2 separate regions of the Homo sapiens genome follow, and region 2 is linked to region 1. The links are contacts of gene promoters, found by promoter capture Hi-C in human tissues and cell types (Jung and others, 2019). All regions are on one chromosome and are shown on one strand. Each heading gives the region's core, a stretch centred on a gene start or on the middle of the fragment in contact. The rest is flanking DNA. Distances are from core to core; before and after follow the strand shown. Region 1 holds the start of FBXO28 (F-box protein 28). Region 2 overlaps FBXO28 (F-box protein 28).

Region 1 (7,167 bases), core at 2,250-4,749:
TGGAAAAACAACTCAAAGTACATGTTTTGTCATTTCAAAGGTTGTGTTCAGCCAAATAATTTTACATTGGAGGAGTTAAATATTTAAGGAGTAATTTCTGTGAAACCACCAGACTCAGGATACATCTTTTGATCAATAGTCAATGGCCAAAAAATAAAATAAAATAAAATAAAATAAATAAATTCAGGCCTAGGTGGGTGGATTGCCTGAGCTCAGGAGTTCGAGACCAGCCTGGGCAACATGGTGAAACCCCGTCTCTACTAAAATACGAAAAATTAGCCGGGCATGGTGGCGTGCGCCTGTAGTTCCAGCTACTCAGGAAGCTGAGACAGGAGAATCGCTTGAACCCCAGGAGGTGGAGGCTGCAGTGAGCCAAGATGGCACCACTGCACTCCAGCCTGGGTGACAGAGCGAGACTCCGTCTCAAAAAAAAAAAAAAAAAAATCCAATTTATTTTTATTTTTATTTTTGAGACGGCGATCTCGGCTCACGTTGTGCAACCCCTGCCTCCCAGGTTCAAGCAATTCTCCCACCTCAGTCTCCCAAGTAGCTGGGATTACAGGCACCCACCATTATGCCTGGCTAATTTTTGTATTTTTATAAAGATGGGGTTTCACCATGTTGGCCAGCTGGTCTTGAACTCCTGACCTCAGGTGATCTGCCCACCTCGGCGTCCCAAAGTGGTGGCATTACAGGTGTAAGCCACTGCGCCCAGCCAAAAATCCAATTTAATAAGGCATTCACACAGTCCCTTGGAAATCAGTTATTCATGGTAAGAGGAAGCAAAGACTATTATCAACTAAACAGTACAAATAACTGAAAAATGTTATTGTAGCAATTTCAACCTAGAGCAAATCTTTTAAAGAAAATGCAGAGTAGTAAGTACATGGATTGTGTACCTATTTATTGTCTACATTAGATGCTAAGCAAAGTTGTAACTGAGGTTCCAATAAGACAAGCAAACTGAGAAGGAAGAAAAAAAGTCCCTGAACAATACATAAACTAACTCCTACCTAACAACTGACATTTAGCTTTATGAAAACTAATTCTGTTCTTAATATTACCCCCTTCAAAGCATATCCAGCCTTAATTCCACTCAAAAATATGCTTACAATGAAGAGAACTACGTAACTTATATGTCAGATAGCAGCATACACTAAAGTCCCTTGATTTTTTGCAAACGATTCTTTAGGTATAAATGGCTACTTAAGAAGGCATGTACAGCTCACCTAGGTACTCTCTTGACTGCCAATTTCAGAAAAGATCATAATTAAATTAATGCTGACACCTAGTGGCAAAAAAGAACATCTTTCTTTTCTAACGTTACTTGAATTGTACCTTCCAAGCAAAGACACTTCCAACTCCCCACAAAGGATTATCCATTTAATCTATTCAAGAATTATCCATTAGCCTTAAGTAAAAAAAATAGTTCCCCATTACTCAAAAATCATATTTGCACATGTAAAACGGGGCAGAATCTTTTCCTGGGGGTGGGCAGTTGTACTGAAGGGACTCCTTATGAAAAATCTGAGTTTGAAATTATAAATTTATAACCTTAAAAGGCCAGAAAACTGCTTAAAAATTAAGAATGCAGCTGAATATCTCACCTGACAGAGATGTCATTTATTCATAAGTTGTGGGATGTGTTTTAACTCTAGTTAGGACAGGCTGGTTCCCCCCTCCCCACTACATTTTTTTAAAATAGTAAAATGATCAACAAACAAATAAAACTCAGTTTTTCTCAACACTTACAAAACAGAACTGTGAATATTCCAAGATTTACAAAGCCATTGTCTGGTTGAATGGTTCAATTCAATCAAATGTTATATGCCCAATTTTCCAAACACTGTATATGTACAGCGCGAATTTTGATTAAACGCCACTGTTTGTAAAAATCTGAAGGAATATTTAAGATTCTACATGAAATTCTAGAATGAAAACGTTTTGGAAATTCAGAGGCAATCAATTGTGAAATATCTATTTTCAGCTGAAGAAATTTTCCATCCTGCAGACTGGCATGGTTGAACTGCTGTGTTGACTAGAAAAAAAATTGGCCATCAGTTTGAATTAATATTTATAAGTTCTCTTTTAAAAATGTTATGATTTCCTTTAAAAATGTAATTATAATCCACTTGAAAGTGGAGGTGTATGCCTACAATATAGCATATTGAGTAATAAGAAGATGTTATACACAGCACATTCAGAAATATCTTTGTCCTCTTAAAAACAATTCCCAGCACAGATTTAGCTTCTCCATGGAATCGGTTTGCAATCACTTCAAAATGTCCACCTCCTTCAATTTCTTTACCACTTAAAGATAATTTCATTGAAAGGCAGCAAAATATCTAACTGAACTAACAATCACCACATCTTCAAACCTCTGGAGTGAAGTAAAACCCCAATGGCAAATTCATTATTTTTAAAAATCATGGACTGACCTATTGTGATTTTAAGGTATAAAGAAACCTCTCCTAAAGCAGGTGGGTGGGCGTAAATCACTAGTTAAAAATAAATTGCAAAAGAGAAAAAACCCGTCAAGGGGTAAGTTGCTTCTCTACGGTGGGAAGCGTTAGGATGAGGCAAAGCAGGAATGGTCATTTCCCAAGGCTCTACTTTAGTGGTCAATTAGGGCGCTGGGGCTAACGCTAAGTAAACACGTTCGAATTCTTCGGAACCTCTACCTGGGTTTGGGGTCACTGAGCCACCTTAGTCTACTCAATCTTCTCGAACAAGAAAACTTGGGTGGTTGGGGTGGGGAACAATTCGTTATTCTTGCAAGATAAACCAAACCTGGCTGGGATCATCTGCCTACTTCTGAGTTTTCTCCCCAAACCCAGGCCGGGGGCTGGAAGCGGCATACAAAAGGCAGGCGACATGACCTCTCCGGGTCTACTCTCGGGCCAGGCGGAAGGTGGGAAGACCAACTCCGCTACCCCTCCCGTAGAGGGCCCGCTTCCGGGCGGGGGGCAAGGAGCCCCCAAGGCGAAGTCCCCTCAGGAAGTAACCCCAGCTCCGCAGCTAGGACGCAATCGGGAACCAGCCCACTCCTGCTGACTGACGCCAAGGGAGAGTTCGGGACGGGAGCGGCTCCCTCCCAGATCTGTAGCCGGCTGGGGCTCGCGGGGGGCTCCCTTCCCGGGGAACGCGCTCCCTTCTCATCTCCCAGACCTCGGCCGGGGGGAGAGGGAGGCAGGAGTTCTGCGGGGGCCTCACCAGGCGGAGCTGGCTAATTTCGTCGTAGGACATAAAGCTGAGGATGTTCTCGATGGCTACGATGGGCAGCGCCACAAGCGTGTTGTTTTGAGGCAGCTGGTCCGGAGCCAGCGCGGGGGCTGGGAGCGCCTGGGACCCCGGCTGCGGGTGCTGTGGCGCGGGCGGTGGAGGCTGTCGCTGGGTAGAGCCGGAGGCCAAAGAGGAACCGCCGTCGCCTTGGCCGCCGCCTCCTTCCTCTGCCATCCGCTCCTCCGCCGCTGCCGCCATCTTGGGGGCTTGATTCCTTACCCCCACAGCAAGGGGAACAGGGACACTTCCGGTGCGTCACTTCCTCCTCCTGCAGCCGCCGGGGAAGGGGTACCTGGAGGAGTGGGGAGGAGCCTGTGGGATAACAGGCGGAGAGAGACTCACAGGGTGCCTTTCAAGTGGAAGTCAGGGAAGATCATGTAAACCTCAAGAAAGGTGGTCATCCTAGACCCTTTTGTCTAAGATTAGTAACTACTTGAGAGCAAGGAAACCCTATTTATTAAAATGAACTTCACTGTGCAGTTTTCTTAAAGGGCTTCCTGACAATGGATGATAAAGATGTTGCCTAGTAAGTGTAGATGGAAATAATGTAGTTAGACTAGCACCATTTTTTAGGAATCATAGAAATGATTGATTTAGGCAAATAAAAAGGTATGAAATATCAATAAGAACTACAACATGAATGAACCGTGAGAACATATTAAGTGAAATAAGTTAGACACAAAGGACCACATATTGTATGATTGCATTTATATAGGATGTCTTAAATAGGCAAATCCATAGAGATAAAAAGTAGATTAGTGGTCGCCAGAGGCTGGGGGAAATGGGGAAATGAGTGCTAATGGGTGAAGGGTTTCATTTTCGGGGTGATAAAAATGCTCTGGAATTAGCGGTGATGGTTACACAACCGTATGAATATACAAAAACCACTGAATTACTATATACTTTAATGAATTTTATCATATATGAATTGTATTCTAATAACTGATTTAGGCAAGAATCATCAAAAGGTACTAAAACTAGGAGGTAAACGTGATGAGGAACATGATATTTCCATAGTCTCAAAATAACTCCCCATAAATTATGTATTATTTACAAAGATGAAAAGAAATAGTTTACAAGGCTGGGCGTGTTGACTCACGCCTGTAATCCAGCACTTTGGAAGGCTGAAGCGGGAGAATCACTTTAGCCCAGAAGTTGGAGACCAGCCTGGGCAACGTGGAGAAACCCCATCTCTACAAAAAATACAAAAAATTAGCCAAATGTGGTGGCTAGGTCCTATGGTCCTAGCTACTCGTGAGGCTGAGATGGGAGGATTGCTTGAGCCACACGAGTTCGAGGCTGCAGCGAACCGTCAGCCTGCCACTGCACTCCAGCCTGGGCAACAGAGCGAGAAAAAAAAAAAAAGTTTACAATAGAGAAATTTGGTGGACACCATCATAACCAAATGATCAAGACTAACGCCACAGTTATAGGAGGAGCCAATATCATATGCCTATTAATATAATACCCTGAAAAGGACGCAGCATAATGTAGTATTCATGCAAAAAAAGCACGAGTTGCGTTTGAGGTAGACATCGCTAGATGACGGGCCCATAAATTATTCAAAAGTGTTAACGTTACAAAAGACAAAGACTAAGGGTTTGTGGCAGATTAAAGGATACTAAAGAGACAGGGCAACTAAATCTATGGGTGATCCTGGATGGGATCCTGGATTAAGGAAGAAATAACTATGAAGAACGTTATTGTGACAACTGGCAAAATTTAAAAATGGACAGTATATTAGATTATACTGTAATCATATTAAATTTTTCGATTTGGGTAATTGTATTATGGTCATATAAGACAATGTCTTTGTCTTTAGGAAATACACATTGAAGGATAAGCATGCTTCTATTATTTTCCTTTATTTATTTATTTATTTTTTTGAGATGGAGTCTTGCTCTGTCACCCAGGCTAGAGTGCAGTGGTGCGATGTCAGCTGGTTCGAGCAATTCTCCTGCCTCAGCCTCCTGAGTAGCTGGGATTACAGGCGCCCACCATCACGTCTGGCTAATTTTTGTATTTTTAGTAGAGACGGGATTTCACCATCTTGGCCAGGCTGCTCTCGAACTCCTGACCTTGTGATCCACCCACCTCAGCCTCCCAAAGTGCTGGGATTACAGGCAGCAATGGCGCCCGGCCGCATGCTTTGTATTTTACACTTTGCTTTCTTGTGCTTCTCAGATATTGCGTTTTTAAAAATGAATTGAAGGTTTGTGGCAACCCTTGAGCAAGTCTCTTGGTGCCATTTTTCCAACAGCATGTGTTCACCTTGTTTCTTTCTGTCACATTTTGATAATTCCTCTGATATTTAAAACTTTTTATTATTGTTATATCTGTTATGGTGAGCTGTGATCAGTAATTTTTTTTGTTTATTGAGGCAGCATCTTGCTCTGTTGCCCAGACTGGAGTGCAATGACAGGATGATGGCTCACTGTAGCCTCCACCGCCTGGGTTCAAGCAATCCCCCAACCTTGGCCTCCTGAGTAGCTGGGACTACAGGTGTGTGCCACCACACCTGGATAATTTTTGATTTTTTTTTGTAGAAACAGGGTTTTGCCACGTTGCCCAGGCTGGCCTTGAACTCTTGTGCTCAAGCAGTCTGCCTGCTTTGGCCTCCCAAAGTGTTGAGATTACGAGAGTGAGCCACCATGCCTGGCAGATCAGTAATCTTTATGTTACTATTGTAATTGTTTTGAGGTGCCACCAATCATACCCATATAAGACGGCAAATTTAATCAATACATGTAGGTGTTCTGACTGGCTGCTGTTTCCCCATCTCTCTTCTTCTCCTGCAGCTATGGTGGAAATAGCAAGAGAACTGGAATTAGAAGTGAAGCCTGAAGATGTGACTAAATTGTTGCTGCAATCTCATGATAAAACTTGAATGGAGGCCGGGTGCGGTGGCTCACGCCTGTAATCCCAGCACTTTGGGAGCCCCAGGTGGGTGGATCACCTGAGGTCAGGAGTTCGAGACCGGCCTGGCCAATGTGGCAAAACCCCTTCTCTACTAAAAGTACAAAAATTAGCCAGACGTGGTGGCATGCGCCTATAATCCCAGCTACTCGGGAGGCTGAGGCAGGAGAATTGCTGGAACCTGGGAGGCAGAGGTTGCAGTGAGCTGAGATCGTGCCACTGCACTCCAGCCTAGGCAACAGAGCGAGATTCCAGCTCAAAAAAGAAAAGAAAAAAAGCCAAACTTGAATGGATTGAATGGATGAGGAGTTGCTTCTTATGAATGAGCAAAGCAAGTGATTTCTTCATATGGAATCTGTTCCTGGTGAAGATGCTGTGATCATTATTAAAAGACAACAAAGGATTTAGAATATTACATAAACTTAGTTGATAAAGCAATGGCAGAGTTTGAGAAGATTGACTCCAATTTTGAAAAAAGGTCTACTGTGGCAAGATGTTATCAAACAGCATCATATGCCATGGAAAAAATCTTTGTGAAAGAGTCAATCAGTGTATCAAACTTCATTGCTATCTTATTTTAGAAAATTGCCACAGCCACCCTAACCTTCAGTAACTACCATCCTGATCGATCAGCAGCTGTTAAATTGAGGTAAGACCCTCTACCAGCAAAAAGATTATGATTCACCAAAGGCTCAGATGATTAGCATTTTTTAGCAATAAAATATTTTAAAATTAAAGTATATCATTTTTTAGACATAATGCTATTGCACACTTAATAGACTACAGTTTTATATAAACATAACTTTTATATGCACTGGGAACCAAAACTTACTTGTGTCACTGGGTTTATTGCACTACTTGCTTTATTATGGTGGCCTGTGTGGTCTAACTCTCAATATCTCAGAGGTATTTCTGTATTTATGGGTAGAGGGAAATGATGCCTCAAATTACTTTCAAATGGTTCAAGTA
Region 2 (7,167 bases), core at 1,401-3,900, 52 kb before region 1:
TCATCTCTACTAAAAATACAAAATTAGCCAGGTATGGTGGCGCATGCCTGTAATCCCAGCTACTCGGGAGGCTGAGGTGGGAGAATCGCTTGAACTCGGGAGGTAGAGGTTGCAGTGAGCCCAGATCGTGCCATTGCACTCCCGCCTGGGTGACAGAGACTCCGTCTCAAAAAAAAAAAAAAAAAATTCTGGAGCCTGGGAAGTCCAAGATCAAGGCACTGGCATATTCAGTATCTGGTGAGGGGCTGCTTCCTTGTTCGTGGATGGCCGTCTTCTGGCTATAACCTCACATGGCAGAAGAGGTGAAGGAGTTTTCTGAGGTCCCTTTTATTTAATTAATTAATTAATTAATTAATTTTTTTGAGATGGAGTCTCGCTCTGTCACCCAGGCTGGAGTGCAATGGTATGATCTCAGCTCACTGCAACCTCTGCTTCCTGGGTTCAAGAAATTCTCCTGCCTCAGCCTCCCAAGTAACTGGGACTACAGGTGCACCCCACCATGCCTGGCTAATTTTTGTATTTTTAGTAGAGATGGGGTTTCACATGTTGGCCAGGGTGGTCTCAAACTGCTGACCTCAGGTGACCCGCCTGCTTCGGCTTCCCAAAGTGCTGGGATTACAGGCGTGAGCCACCGCACCCAGCCTGGTGTCTCTTTTAAAAGAACACTAACCCCATTCATGAAGACTTCACCCTCATGAACATAATCACCTCCCCAAAGCCCAACCTCCTAGTCTCCTCCCCTTGAGGATTAGGCTTCAAGGCATACATTTTGCGGGGACACAAACTTTCAGTCTATAGCAGCTGGTTTAATTGTTGAATACACTTCCATGGTTTAAAAATAGAAAAACATGGCCGGGCGCGGTGGCTCACACCTGTAATCCCAGCACTTTGGGAGGCCGAGGCAGGCGGATCACGTGGTCAGGAGATCGCGACCATCCTGGCTAACATGGTAAAACCGTGTCTCTACTAAAAATACAAAAAATTAGCCGGGTGTAGCGGCGGGCGCCTGTAGTCCCAGCTACTCGGGAGGCTGAGGCAGGAGAATGGCGTGAACCCCGAGGGGCGGAGCTTGCAGTGAGCCGAGATCGCGCCACTGCACTCCAGCCTGGGCGACAGCGCGAGACTCCGTCTCAAAAAAAAAATAGAAAAACATACAGGTGTCTAGTGATAAGCTCCTCCCAGCTCCTGTTCCTGTTGTTATGTTGTCAAACCCCAAAATATAACCACTGTTATTGATTCCCTGTGCATTTTTCTAGAATTTTTTTTTCTTTTCTTTTCTTTCTTTTTTTTTGACATGGAATCTCACTCTTTCTCCCAGCCTGGAGTGCAGTGGTGTAATCTCAGCTCACTGCAACCTCTGACTCCCAGATTCAAGTGATCCTCCTGCCTCAGCCTCCTGAGTATCTGGGACTACAGGCACAGACCACCATGCCTGCCTAATTTTTGTATTTTTAGTAGAGGTGGGATTTCGCCATGTTGGCCAGGCTGGTCTCAAACTCCTGACCTCAAGTGATCTGCCCCCCTCAGCCTCCCAAAGTGCTGGGATTACAGGCATGATCCACCGTGCCCGGCCTAGAGTTTCTTTATGCATATGCATGCCACTACTTAGCAGTACAGTCATGAACTGCTTAAAGATGGGGATGTGCTCTCAGAAATGCATCAAGTGATTTTGTTGTATGAATATAATAGAGTTTACTTACACAAACCTAGATGGTTTAGCCTACTATATACACCTAGGCTATATGGTACAGCCTATTGATGCTAGACTACAAAACTGTATGGCATGTTACTGTTCTGAATACTGTAGGCACTTGTAGCACAGTGGTATTTGTGTATCTAAACACATAAACATAGAAAAGAAGCAGTAAAAATATGGTAGTATAATCTTATGGGACTGTCATAAAATATGCTGCTGCTTGTTGACTGAAATGTGGTTATTCAGCATGACTCTATATTATTTCCCTCTTTATTTTTCACAAAAGTTAGTATACTGTAATATTGTTCTGTATTTTGTTATTTCCCTTAGCAGTCTTGGAAATACATATATATTTTTTTCTTTTAGAGACAGAGTCTCACTCTGTCTCCCAGGCTGGGGTGCAGTGGCACAATCTCAGCTCACTGCAACCTCCACCTCCTGGGTTCAAGTGATTCTCCTGCCTCAGCCTCCTGAGTAGCTGAGATTACAGACACACGCCACCATGCCTGGCTACTTTTTGGATTTTTTAGTAGAGACAGGGTTTCACCACACTGGCCAGGCTGGCCTCAAACTCCTGACCTCAGGTGACCCACCCACCTCGGTCTCCCAGAGTGCTGGGATTACAGGCATGAGCCACCACGCTGGCCTTTTTTTTTTTTTTTTCATTTTGAGACGTAGTCTCGCTCTGTCTCCCAGGCTGGAGTGCAGTGGCATGATCTCAGCTCACTGCAACCTTTGCCTCCCGGGTTCAAGCGATTCTCCTGCCTCAGCCTCCCGAGTAGCTGGAATTACAGGTACCTACCACCATGCCCAGCTACTTTTAGTATTTTTAGTAGAGATGGGGTTTCACCATGTTGGCCAGGCTGGTCTTGAACTCCTGACCTCAAGTGATCTGCCCACCTTGGCCTCCCAAAGTGCTGGGATTACAGGCATGGGCCACCATGCCCGGCCAGAAATATTTCTTAGCATATAGATAATTTTCTTATTTTTACTGGTGCCTAGTATTCTATTGTAAGGATATATCCCAATTTATGAACCCTGTCTCCTATTGATGGATATTTTATTATTATTTTTTGAGACAGGGTCTTACTGTCACTCAGGCTGAGTGCAGTGGCAGCTCGCTGCAGCCTTGACCTCCTGGGCTCAAGCGATCCTCCTTTCTCAGCCTCCCAAGTAGTTGGGACTACAGGTGTATGCCACCAAGCCTGGCTAATTTTTTTTTTTTTAATTTTTAAATTTAAAATTTTTGTTTTTGGTAGAGACGAAGTCTTGGTATGTTGCCCAGGCTGGTCGTGAACTCCTAGATGCAAGCGATCCTCCCACCCTGGCCTCCCAAAGTGTATTTTTAAAAATAATTTCTTTATTCTCAAATGATAGTGACTGGATTGATACTGGTGGGAATTGTAATATAAATTTCCTGGCCGGGCACGGTGGCTCAAGCCTGTAATCCCAGCACTTTGGGAGGCAGAGGCGGGCGGAACACGAGGTCAGGAGATCAAGACCATCCTGGCTAACGTGGTGAAACCCCATCTCTACTAAAAATACAAAAAATTAGCCAGGCGAGGTGGTGGGCGCCTGTAGTCCCAGCTACTCGGGAGGCTGAGGCAGGAGAATGGCGTGAACCTGGGAGGCGGAGCTTGCAGTGAGCTGAAATCGCGCCACTGCACTCCAGCCTGGGCGACAGAGGGAGACTCCGTCTCAAAAAAAAAAAAAAAAAAAAAAAGACACCAAAGGCGATGAAACTGTTTTCTGTTTGGGATGGCTGATGGTCATGACCTCTACTGGTTTCAAGAACTGTCCCTGACCAATACTAACTTTTGTATTTTCTTCCTGCTTTCTCCTCCCTTTTACTCTCCTTCCTCTCTTCTCTCTCTCCATTTTCTTTGTTATTGCTAAATATAGGGAGCTAAGGGTTGTTTAGCATTTAGATTCAAAATGACAAATGTGCCTTACAGTGGCATTTCTCAAATTTTAATGTGCAAACTAATCACCAGGTGATCTTGTTAAAATGCAGATTTGATTCTGGAATGGGGCCTGAGATTCTACATTTCACAGAAGCTCCTAGGTGATTGAGGCTGTTGATCCATGGGCTACACTGTAACAGGCAGTGTCCTCTTACAGTAGAGTTACAGAAACTGTTTATCTAAAGAGCACTTTCTTGTAAGCTTGCTCCAACTCTCCAAAGAAAGAACAAGCAGTTTAGCCCTCTCTTCTTTACCCCACCCCAGCTAATTCTCTTTGGCTTGGCCTTGCGGAGGGAAGCATGTTCCCCTTGTCTTATCACAGGAAAGTATATCTTAGGTGTTGTATTCTGGAGTCAGTTTTGCTATTTACATTGCTGCATCACAGATTCCTAACAAATCAGTTAATTTGAATTTGACTTTTGTACAATCCAAAGGACAAGAGGAAAAAAAGAGTTTAAAAACACAAAAGCTGAGAAAGTTGAAAGCTATTTAGTTGCGTCTCTTTGAACAGAATTTATTGAATTAGGGGAAGTTTATCTTTGATTTGTATTTCCTTTCCAGTTATCAGTTGTACATTTTGCTCAAACACCCAACTGCTCATATTTCTTCTGTGTACGATTTACTCTAATTTTGCTTTGAGGAAATGATTAATCAGAAACCAGAGGGATGTAGGCCGGGTGTGGTGGCTCACGCCTGTAATCCCAGCACTTTGGGAGGCCGAGGCGGGCATATCACCTGAGGTCGGGAGTTCGAGACCAGCCTGGCCAACATGGTGAAACCCCATCTCTACTAAAAATACAAAAATTAGGTGGGAATGGTGGCGCACGCCTGTAATCCCAGCTACTTGGGAAGCTGAGGCAGGAGGATCACTTGAACCCAGGAGGCGGAGGTTGCAGTGAGCCAAGATCACGCCACTGCACTCCAGCCTGGGCGACAGAGACTCCATACAAACAAACAAAAAAACCAGAGGAATGTATACCAGCGAGTTGAGATACATCTTTTTGGAAAGAACATCATCTTTAATGAATTCTGTAAGAATTGGTTCAGCAATTAACATGGGAAAGTTCATACAGGTGAGATCTTTTAAAAAAAGTTTTTAAAGAAAAGCAAAAAAGCAAGAATACTGGTGAAGATCCTTGGTTTCTAATAACGTGAATCTATTACACAGCAATTGAGCCACCTGGAGAATATGAAAATTCAAATTTCCACCCTCATCTACCTTCTGAAGACTGGGATACACAGTAGCCACCTTTATCTTTCTAGGCTATCTGGATGACTAGAATGCAGTAATGGTGCTAGGACAATTGACACCACTGCTGTCACCCTCACCCACAGTATAAAGTTATCTGTGATCTCTTTTCTGAAAATCTTAAGCTGTCTACAGGCTGGGGTTAAAGAACTTAGATAAGTTTTCTCTTCTTCAGAGAATTGTTTTCAGCAATTCCCTATCAGTTACACCTTTAAGGAACAGGTTAAACTGATTTATATAATTTTATTTTGTTGAAATTCTAACCATTTAGTTTTGGAACTGGACGTAGTCTTGAAAAGAGAACTAGTACCCCACCCTCGCAGGGTGAAAGAATTGGTAGTTGCTACTTTTCTACTGACCAGCAGCATATATTATACAGGAAGGTGACTTTTTTGAAACAGTCTTTCTCTGTTGCCCAGGCTGGAGTGCAGTGGCGTGACCTCGGCTCGCTGTAAGCTCCACTTCCCCAGCTCAAGCGAATCTCATGCCTCAGCCTCCCTAGTAGCTGAGACTACAGGTGTGCGACACCATGCCTGGCTAATTTTTGTATTTTTAATAGAGAGGGGTTTTGCCACATTGGCCAGGCTGGTCTCAAACTCCTGGCCTCAAATGACCCACCCGCCTTGGCCTCCCAAAATGCTGCAGTAACAGGTGTGAGCTACCGCACCCGGCCAGAAGGTGACTTTAGACATGTCAGTAGCCTTAGCGCACATCTACTGCCAGGACTTCTCTGATTTTAAGATTACAGGTTCTGGAAGCCTTTTAAACATTCTCTTTTACTTGTACACCTAGGGTGAACCCCTTGTGTGCAAATAACCTTAAAAGTTGCCTCCTCCAAGCCCAGCTTTTTTTTTTTTTTTTTTGAGACGGAGTCTCACTCTGTCACCCAGGCTAGAGTGCAGTGGCACAATCTTGGCTCACTGCAACCTCTGCCTCCCAGGTTCAAGCAATTCTCCTGCCTCACCCTCCCGAGTAGCTGGGATTAGAGGCACCTGCCATCACGCCCGGCGAATTTTTGTATTTTTAGTAGAGATGAGGTTTCACCATGTTGGTCAGGCTGGTCTCGAACTCCTGACCTTGTGATCTGCCCCGCCTCGGCCTCCCAAAGTGCTAGGATTACAGGTGTGAGCCACCGTGCCCGGCCTAGCCCAGCCTTTTCTTGATCTCAGTTCTATATACTACTGTTAGCATTAGTGATTTGGGCATTGACTGCTTCTAGTGGATGTGTGGGATGGTCTTGCTTATATTAAGTTCAGAGTCTCATTGTTCTCAGGTTTCTAGGATGCAGTGTAGTGTAGTAGCAAGTTTATAAACTTCAGAGCTCATGGGTCAAATCCCACTTACGCCACTTACTTGCATAACACTGTGGACATGTTGCTTAGCCTGAGTTCAACTTCCCCACGTAGAGTAAAACCTACTTTATAAGGTAGCTGTGAGGACCACTGTAACATCTGTAAAACACATAGTACAGTGCTCCAAAAGACAGTAGCTATCAATATGGTATGTTAGCAATAGAGCTCCATATTCTTTTGTGCATGAAATACAAAGAAAACAAGTAGCACTGGTAACAACACATTTATTTACGTACCCTGTTGTGTGACCGGGAGGTGTTTTTCACTTTCCAATAATTGATTCGGTTATAACAATTAAAATTCCAGAAGGTAAACTAGTAATTTATTGTTGCTCATAAGCATAGGTAAACAGACATGGTACCACAATAAAGGAATCTTAAACACTTCTAACCTTTTGGAATAGGTTTGAATATGGACCAATATACTTTGCCAATGGACCTAATAGATTACCAATATACTTCTAAATGTCATGGTTCTCTTCAGACACAACAGAAGAAATCTGGATCTAATTTTTAAACTTCAGAAATTTAACCAAGATGCTTAGGAAGATGCAAAAGGACAGCAGTACTTAAGCCTGTCATATTTATCACCAATATAACTGTATTGCTATTAAAAGTAAAATCATGGTAGGGAGCAGCCAACTAATTGCTAGTCTCAGTTCATAGATTTAGTATTTTTTGAAAATAATTCACCTCAGATGGCAGGCTATACAAGTTTAAAGTAGTTTTAACTTAACCTTTTGTGTACTAGTGAAAGCAATTCAGATAGATCCCAAGTCAAAGAACCAAACAGTGTATCAAGTTGGGTTTCATATCAGAAATCAGCCATTTCCAAACAACTGCATCGTATAGGACGTTTTCTTTCAGACTGCCTTTTATTCCTGGCTTCAAATCTTACTCACAGTAT

What was found. The method cuts DNA at HindIII sites, captures the fragments that hold promoters and counts their contacts. A contact is called where the count stands out against the background at its distance.
Region 2: a contact is called between a fragment that was not itself captured here and the fragment with the promoter of FBXO28 in region 1, in 1 of the 25 tissues and cell types used here (H1 embryonic stem cells).

The regions. Positions count from the first base shown.
Region 1 is chr1:224,110,443-224,117,609 of GRCh38, reverse strand. FBXO28 (F-box protein 28) reads right to left here and starts at 3,499. Exons shown (of 5, transcript NM_015176.4): 1 at 3,214-3,499. The coding sequence starts at 3,480. LOC105373056 (a long non-coding RNA gene) reads left to right here and starts at 3,570. Exons shown (of 3, transcript XR_007066897.1): 1 at 3,570-3,675; 2 at 6,081-6,847. RefSeq lists enhancers at 3,437-3,506, 3,647-3,706, 3,727-3,856. The HindIII fragment of the contact is 33,635 bases long and covers 1-7,167 here.
Region 2 is chr1:224,161,349-224,168,515 of GRCh38, reverse strand. It overlaps FBXO28 (F-box protein 28), which reads right to left. Exons shown (of 5, transcript NM_015176.4): 5 at 6,469-7,167. Among named protein-coding and RNA genes, the nearest start is that of DEGS1, 18 kb to the left of the region's middle. RefSeq lists an enhancer at 5,604-6,104. The HindIII fragment of the contact is 7,720 bases long and covers 1-6,510 here.